Regions from separate parts of the Homo sapiens genome. Here region 2 is linked to region 1. Evidence: promoter capture Hi-C in human tissues and cell types (Jung and others, 2019). All regions are on one chromosome and are shown on one strand. Each heading gives the region's core, a stretch centred on a gene start or on the middle of the fragment in contact. The rest is flanking DNA. Distances are from core to core; before and after follow the strand shown.

The links. The method cuts DNA at HindIII sites, captures the fragments that hold promoters and counts their contacts. A contact is called where the count stands out against the background at its distance.
Region 2: a contact is called between a fragment that was not itself captured here and the fragment with the promoter of MAB21L1 in region 1, in 1 of the 25 tissues and cell types used here (H1 embryonic stem cells).

The regions. Positions count from the first base shown.
Region 1 is chr13:35,475,439-35,479,184 of GRCh38, forward strand. MAB21L1 (mab-21 like 1) reads right to left here and starts at 1,251. Exons shown (of 1, transcript NM_005584.5): 1 at 1-1,251. The coding sequence starts at 700. The region is part of intron 41 of NBEA (neurobeachin); the gene reads left to right. RefSeq lists enhancers at 1-823, 3,337-3,746. The HindIII fragment of the contact is 6,873 bases long and covers 1-2,426 here.
Region 2 is chr13:35,534,512-35,537,995 of GRCh38, forward strand. All of the region lies in intron 41 of NBEA (neurobeachin), which reads left to right. Among named protein-coding and RNA genes, the nearest start is that of MAB21L1, 60 kb to the left of the region's middle. The HindIII fragment of the contact is 7,621 bases long and covers 1-3,484 here.

The sequences.
Region 1 (3,746 bases), core at 1-2,500:
ACTGCAGCACCCAGGCGTCGCTCTCCGCCGAGCTCTGCTTGCCGGCCAAGGAGTGGCACTCCTTGGACAAGAGATTGAAACCTTCCGCCTTGACCTCCGCCACCCGGTTGGGTCCCGGCCAGGGGATGTGGGGAAGTGGCCAGTGGGCAGCACTCCTCGGCCAGATCCCGGTGCATTTAAAGGCCGGCGTGATCTGCACCACGTACCTATCTCGGATTCTCAGTTTCACTTCGCTGGTGTCTGCCACCATCTTTACCACATCCCGGTAGCTACATTTGTCTACCGCTTGAGCCACCAGCGTCTGAAACCTGGACCGGATTTTGCGCGCCGAGAGGTAGCCGGAGGCGGTAATGAATTCCACCCAGAGGGACATGCTCCTCTTGCGCCCGTCGCTCAACTTCAGCACCGCGCAGCCGGGCAGTGAGCCATCGTCCACGAAGTTGAACACCCCCATTTGGTTGAGATAAAGCACCACTTCAAATTCGGTGGGGGAGATGACCTCGAGGCCCTCGTAGCGATTGTCCATCTCGTTGAGAGAGCTGATGAACCGCGGCTCCTGCACTTCCACTTCCTTCAGTACGTCGGAAACTACTTTGCAGACTTCCCGGATAGTTTTGGCAATGGCAGCTTTCCTGGCTTGGCATTTTTCGTTGTAGTATTTATTCAGATGGTAGACCAGCTTGGCCTGGGCCGCAATCATGTTGGGGCAGAGATCCGGATTGTACACCGGAGTCTCGCAGTAAGCTGTGGGATCCAATGCGGCTGCTAGAGCTGGAGCCAACTTCGGTGGAGAAACGGGCCGCAACACTCAGAAATGGATCAAAAATGCCTTTCGGAAGTGCTGCAGCGTTGGTTTCCCTGCTGCTGCTGCTGCTGCTGCTGCTGCTGCTGCTGCTGCTGCTGCTGCTGCTGCTGCTTTTCCCTTCCTTTTATCTTTGAGCCCAGCCGTTCTTAAAGTGAAAGACTGTCCTCCCCCCTCTGCTTGTCTCTCTTCCTCTTTTAAAGAATCCTTGTGTGAGAGAACCGCATGGAGAGATCACCTTCTCAGGAATAAAAAACAAAAGTTGCGCTGAGACCCAGCAAAGCTCTTCCAGTAGTCAAAATAAGCACCCCTTTCCGTATTTATTTGCGCTTTCCCGTAATCATTGTGTGTGCAGCACTGTTAATCAAATGGAGGAAAAGTGTGCTGAGTGTGTGTCCGGGGTGAGTGTGCGTGTGTATATGTCAGAAGAAGCTGCTGTTGGTTTGTCTAAGAGCCCAGATGCACTCGTGTGGAAATTATAAAGGCAGGGCCAGGCAGGCGGGCGGCCAATCGCCACTGGGCTCGTCACGACAGCCTCCTTCAGCTCCAACCCGGCTAATTAATCCCCACTCATGGATATAGGCACACAAACTAAAGGTAGGAGGCTGCTGCCGGCGGAAAACCACTCAGGCCACCTAGACAGTTTGGAAATCAAGAGGAATCTCTCAGCTTTGGTATTACTTGAAGCATATTGACGTTTTGAAAAGACTTGGCAAAGCGGCTCTCTTCTGTGCCGAAAACCTGCTTGTCTTTTACCGCTGAAATGCAAATACAGGTGTATTAATGGGCATCCATCAATTAGTGATCTTGACGGGGTTTTCTAAAACAAAATCACTAACTTGCATTTAGAGTAAGATAATTAACGTCTGTTAATCCTTGGGGTCTTCTTAAATGCAGGTTGAAAGTTTGTTCTTTCATGCAGACTACTGGCATATGGAAGTTGGCTTTAGATGGAGGAGTACCTGTGTAATTTTCTCATTCTGGATGTTCCTATATGTTAAAATGATTTTTTGAAACGTTATGGAGGTAGTATGCTCTTTTTTTACTTATGTTTTTTTCTTTTCTCCATTTGTTGAATCTGAAAATTATTGCTGAGTGTGTGAGATGTTCTACCCCTGTTTAAGTTAGGATATTTAAAAAATATTTCGTACATCCCTCTGCCCCAGCAGATGCAGTCTTTGCACTTTGGTGGACTTGCCCAGCATTACAAGCAGGACACAACGCTATATATGCACTTATAGAAACATTTGAAAAATAAATTGTCTGTGGGATGGACAGAGTACTTTAGCGTTATTTCATAGTGACCTGTATTTTAGTACATAAAATTCAGGTGAGATCATAGAGATCAAGCTTCCTCACAGATAACTATCCCGAAAAATTGAAGGTTTGGGGTATCTGGCTTGTTTACAGATGTATAATTAAGGATATATCTCCTGTCTTAAGTGTCCTTAAGTGGTGACCTGGCAGTAGACTTCTAATTTTATACTATTTCGTGTGATTTAATTAAGGGAAAATGGTTAACATTTGCAAAGAAAATTAACTTGCAGTTATCTGGGGGGTTTTTTGGATTTAAACATCATTTTGAAAACAAAAATGAAATAAATCATTTCATTTCTGAATTTTGGAACCTGGAAACAGGAGGAGGAATTTTTTTTTCTAGTTGGTGGTCCAGTTGTGTCCTCAAAGTACAGGAAACTAAAGAAATACTACTTAGTGGTTACGTTGTGGTTTTTAAAACTAGGTGGATTTTTTTAATTGTCTACCTTTAATTTAGATGCCACGTCTTTCCAATTAAGAATATTTCCCGTCAAATCCTATAACTCCCGGTAACATGTTTGTAGACACTTTCAGAGTCACTTTTAACAAGATATTCTTCAGGGCTCCCACTTGCTACTTAAGCTTTTGATTTTTGTTTGTGTGTTTTGTTTTGCACAGGCACAGCATCACAAAACCACCTATTATTTAATTTCTCCTTATCCAACAGTGATAGATTCCAATTTAGCTGAAAATAGTATACATTGGGGTGCGTGGCACCCAGCTACTCTATTTCCCAAGAACCTTCCATCCCCTTAAGAGCAGGGTCTGGGAACACCCAAAAAACCCCTCCCCACTTTGCCGTCATCGCGGGTGAATGCACCACTACCTTTTGGCAGTTGGAGGGGAGACCCATCAGAGCCGGAGAACCTGCAGCCACGACGGCGAGGATGTGCAGTGGTCTCTGGGGAAACGCCGCCTTCTGCCCTCACCCGGCGCGTGTGGCCCTGTGCCGTCCGCTCGCCGCCTCTCTCTCGCTGCTCCGCATTCCCGTGCCCTCTTACTTTCCTCTCTGGGCTCAAGATCGCTACGCTTTATTTCTGCGTGAGCTTATTTGAAAACCTTACTTGGTGTCCCGGCTTACTCTCCACGTCTGCTCCAGACCACGGTCTGCCCACGCACCCCTCAGCCTGCACCGCCCACGTCCGGCCCAGGTGTGGTCGCAGCCAAGCCCCAGCCGCGGGCCCCTGCGCCCTGCGCTCTCTCCCTTGGGTTCAGGCCAGAGATGCTTGCCCCAAGACCTCGCCCCTTGCCTTCTTGGGCCACCTGCAGAACACCCTTGGTTGTCAAGGACGTGAGACAGCCGAGGACGGGGAGGCCCCAGGGCTGTTCGGGGGACCTTAAGTGGGTCCAACGGGAAGGACGCGGGCCTGCGAGGGATGCCGGTCGGGCCTGGCTGGAGCCAGGCGCGCAGGTGGCGCATCTTCGGGGCTCACTGTGCAGCTTAATTGGGTTAAAGCGAAGCTAAACACCGAAGCACTTTGTGCAAACTAATTGGTGCAACCAGCGCCTTTTCACTAACGATTTGCACTTTGAGAAAGAAAAATGGATGGTGAGAAAAGGTATACTAGGAAACTCATTAGATCTAGAGTGTTCAGGAAAGTGAAGTCATTTAGTTTAAAGGACGCCA
Region 2 (3,484 bases), core at 314-2,813, 59 kb after region 1:
CATCTATTGAGGGCTAAGTTAAAATCCCCATTCCAGTTCATCCTTTCTGCAGTGAGTGCTCTGGACAGCCTCTTGCCTGTAGACATGTGACCTCTGTACTTGGAGTGGAAACACCTGAGATAAGAACTTTACATACCGTAGCTCATTTAATTCTTTCAACAACCCAGTAAAATAGAATCATCCTATCAATCTTACAGATAAAGACACAAATAGAAAAGCTGGGCTCCATGAAAGGAGGGGCCGTCTCTGTCTTGTTCACAATGTGTCCCATCACCTAGCACAATATCTGGATCCTAGTACATGCCGACTGAATTTTTTTTGATGAACAAATTATGTGTTATGCCAACAGGCTTTGCCTAGGATCAGAGAACTTGCTCATGATATTCAAATGAAACAAATAAAAGGCAAATTTTCAGCAAACTAGTATTTTGCTTCAAATAGCTTTACAAAAAAAGAATAAAAACTCAGCAGAAGAGAAAAAAATAATCCTGGGGCATTCCAGAAATGCAGAAGAAACTTTTTGGTTATATTTAACCCTGGAAATACTGTTTTCGTTGCCTGCAAGTCGGGTAATCTCTAAATCCTCTTTTTACCCAATTATAGATATTTGTGAAAGGTACTCATTTGCCAGCAAGGGCCATTTACTGGGCTATTTACAGTTAAACTGAGTTGCATTTCTTGAAGAGCTAATTTTCCTGTAATGTAGAAAACTGGCGGCAGAAGCAAAAACACCATGGGAAATTCAGTAGGTGCATTGTGTAGTTGAAGCATGAAGGTGCTTTAAGGTGTTTTTTGTTTAGTTTTGTTTTGTTTTGTTTTTTATGTTAAACTTCAAATGCAGAAGACAGAACACGCAAAACCGTTTAGTAAGTGGTAAATAAGAACAAATTCCAGGAAATAATCAGAGCTGATTGGAGCAATGTGACACACAGAACCAGAGACTGGATCAGAGAATAAAGTACACTGAAAAGGATCTGGGCTGGGGTCAAGGCAGAGACTGCTCCCATCACTCCTGACTGAGGGTTCACTAAGGTCTGGGTAGGGGAGGATCGTGAATTCATTTGTTCAACACATCTATGTAGCACAGCCTTTCTGCTAACCTCCCCACTTGATACTTGCTGTGTTATTTCATTTAATACTCACAGCAACCCTGCAAAGTAGATGTAATTTGTCCCATTTTATATAAGGGAAACTGTCACAAGTGTATTGGGAAACTTGCCTGAAGTTATACAAACTTTAGAGTCTGTGTGTCATCCTCCAAGTCCAAGTTCTTTCCACTACAGCATGGCATACAGATATATAAAAAATTACTTTAGTCTACAAAACTAAGTGCTAGTAAAGTACATACTTATTGCTACATACTGGTAGGATGAGGGAATGTGGCAAGGGTAACATTCATACTGCCTTAGGTAGATACACAGTAAAATAGACCCAATCAAAAGGACTTCCAAAATGCAAGTTTGCCTGCATGAGGTTATGTTTCATTCTACCACTTCTCTTCAGGAGACGGTGATGCTGAGGGAGCTGTAGCTTTAAGAGAAAGAAAAATAAATTCTCATGAACCCCAAGCATGCACCTGTGAATACCCAGGGGCACTTGGGTTTTCAAGTGAAAATATGCTTCACAAACTCGGAACCCATATTTTATGATAGCTTTCAGTTGCTAATTGTCACTGAAAAAGAAAAGTCTTTAAAACCTGAAAAATAATTCACATTCATCTTTTCTTTCTGGTCCCTGATGAGCCTACTACCTACCTGGCAGATACTTGATAAATGGTAAATATTTTTTGAATAAATGCTTTTTTGAGCAGTAAGTTTTTAATATATCATAGAAATTTACCAGGTAGACAAGGAGGAGAAGTTATTCTAGAACATAAAGTGTGGAAATGTTTGATATCTGCATTTGTTTTTTTTTAATTTCAATAGACTTTACTTTTTTAGAACAGTTTAAGTTTACAGAAAATTGAACAGCTAATACAGAGAGTTCCTATATATGTGTGTGTATTGGTCCTGTTTTTTTCCTTCTTCAAAGAACAGAGACATGAAAGTAACATCTGATAATAACACTTTATATTAGAAAATTGTCAGCTGCAAGTAACAGACACTGTAAACTGGCTTCGTAAAAAATAGATAGATGATAGATAGATAGATAGATAGATAGACAGACAGACAGACAGTCAGTCCTGGATTCTGGTGGTCTCCAAGGTTGATTCAGCTAGTCGTGGATGCTGTCAAAAACCCAGGTGCATTGCCTGTCTTTACTCAGTGATCCTTGGTTTGTCCTAATTCTTACGCTGATAGCAATGTGGCTCCAACACTTCAAAAAATCAACATAAGCTCAGAAATATTCAAAGGAATGAGAGAGCATCTCTTCCATTGGCTCCCTCACAGCATGTGGAAACTTTTCTAAATCCGATATACCCCTGGAACTGGCCAGGGGGTCAGTGTGTCCTGGCTTGGAAGTGATGTAAGAGAAGTCAATACCTGAACATGATTGGAGTTGTGTCAATCAGGGAAATGGGGCAGGGGGATAGGGTTGGAATAGGAGGAGTGGAATGGTTTCTGAGTAAGTAAGCAGTAGTGTCTACTATAGAGTTTCTTTTAAGAAAGCATAATAAAATACAAATGGTAAATTTTGATCAGGCCTTCTGAAAAACTGGAATTTTTTTCAGCTCCAATAAACCACATTTTTTCTGTCTCCCTCAATCATAGACACCCATTGACATAGCACCAATTACTCTGTTTATACTTCTGCTACTAGAGAATAACTATATATAGACCCTGTATATATACAGGGTCTCCTAGCTTAATCATTAATAGAAGTTAATCAGAAGAACAAAATCAGAAATCAGACTCTATATATACCCTTTAATTCAATCATTCAACAGATTTTTTACTGAGTTTCGACAACATACCAGGCATTGTGCTAAGTAATAGAGATACAGTAATGAGAAGAAAAAAAATGGTCAAAAAGCTTATAGTCTAGTGGAGGAGATTACATTAAAAATGAAATTATACAATGAATTTGCAAAATTACATTTGCGGTAAGTGCTGTGAAGAGAACTTGTCTCATAGGTGCTATGAGAGCGTAAGATAGGGTGATTTTACCTAGCTAGGGAGGTCAGTGGCAAAAATAGAAGCAAAAAGAGACCTTGAAGATGAGTAGAAGTGAACTTGGCAAATAGGGGAGGGAAGATATTTCCAGAGAGGGAAGAATATGTGCATTGGCTCTGTGACAGGAAACAACATGGTAGGTAACAAGGGACTGAACAAAGGCCAGTGTGGCTTGACCTCAAGGGCAAAGTGGAACCTGATTCATCTGGAGCAGGAGACCTGTTGTGTGCACCACTAACCCCATCCCATCTCTTTTGTTGTTGGCTCTGCTTCCTCAGAACTTCTGCTGCCTTATGATTTCTGTTGACTGCTTTCTCGCTGTGTTCTAGCTTCTTCCCACTGTCCTCTTCAGGCCGTCTCTGAATATCTTG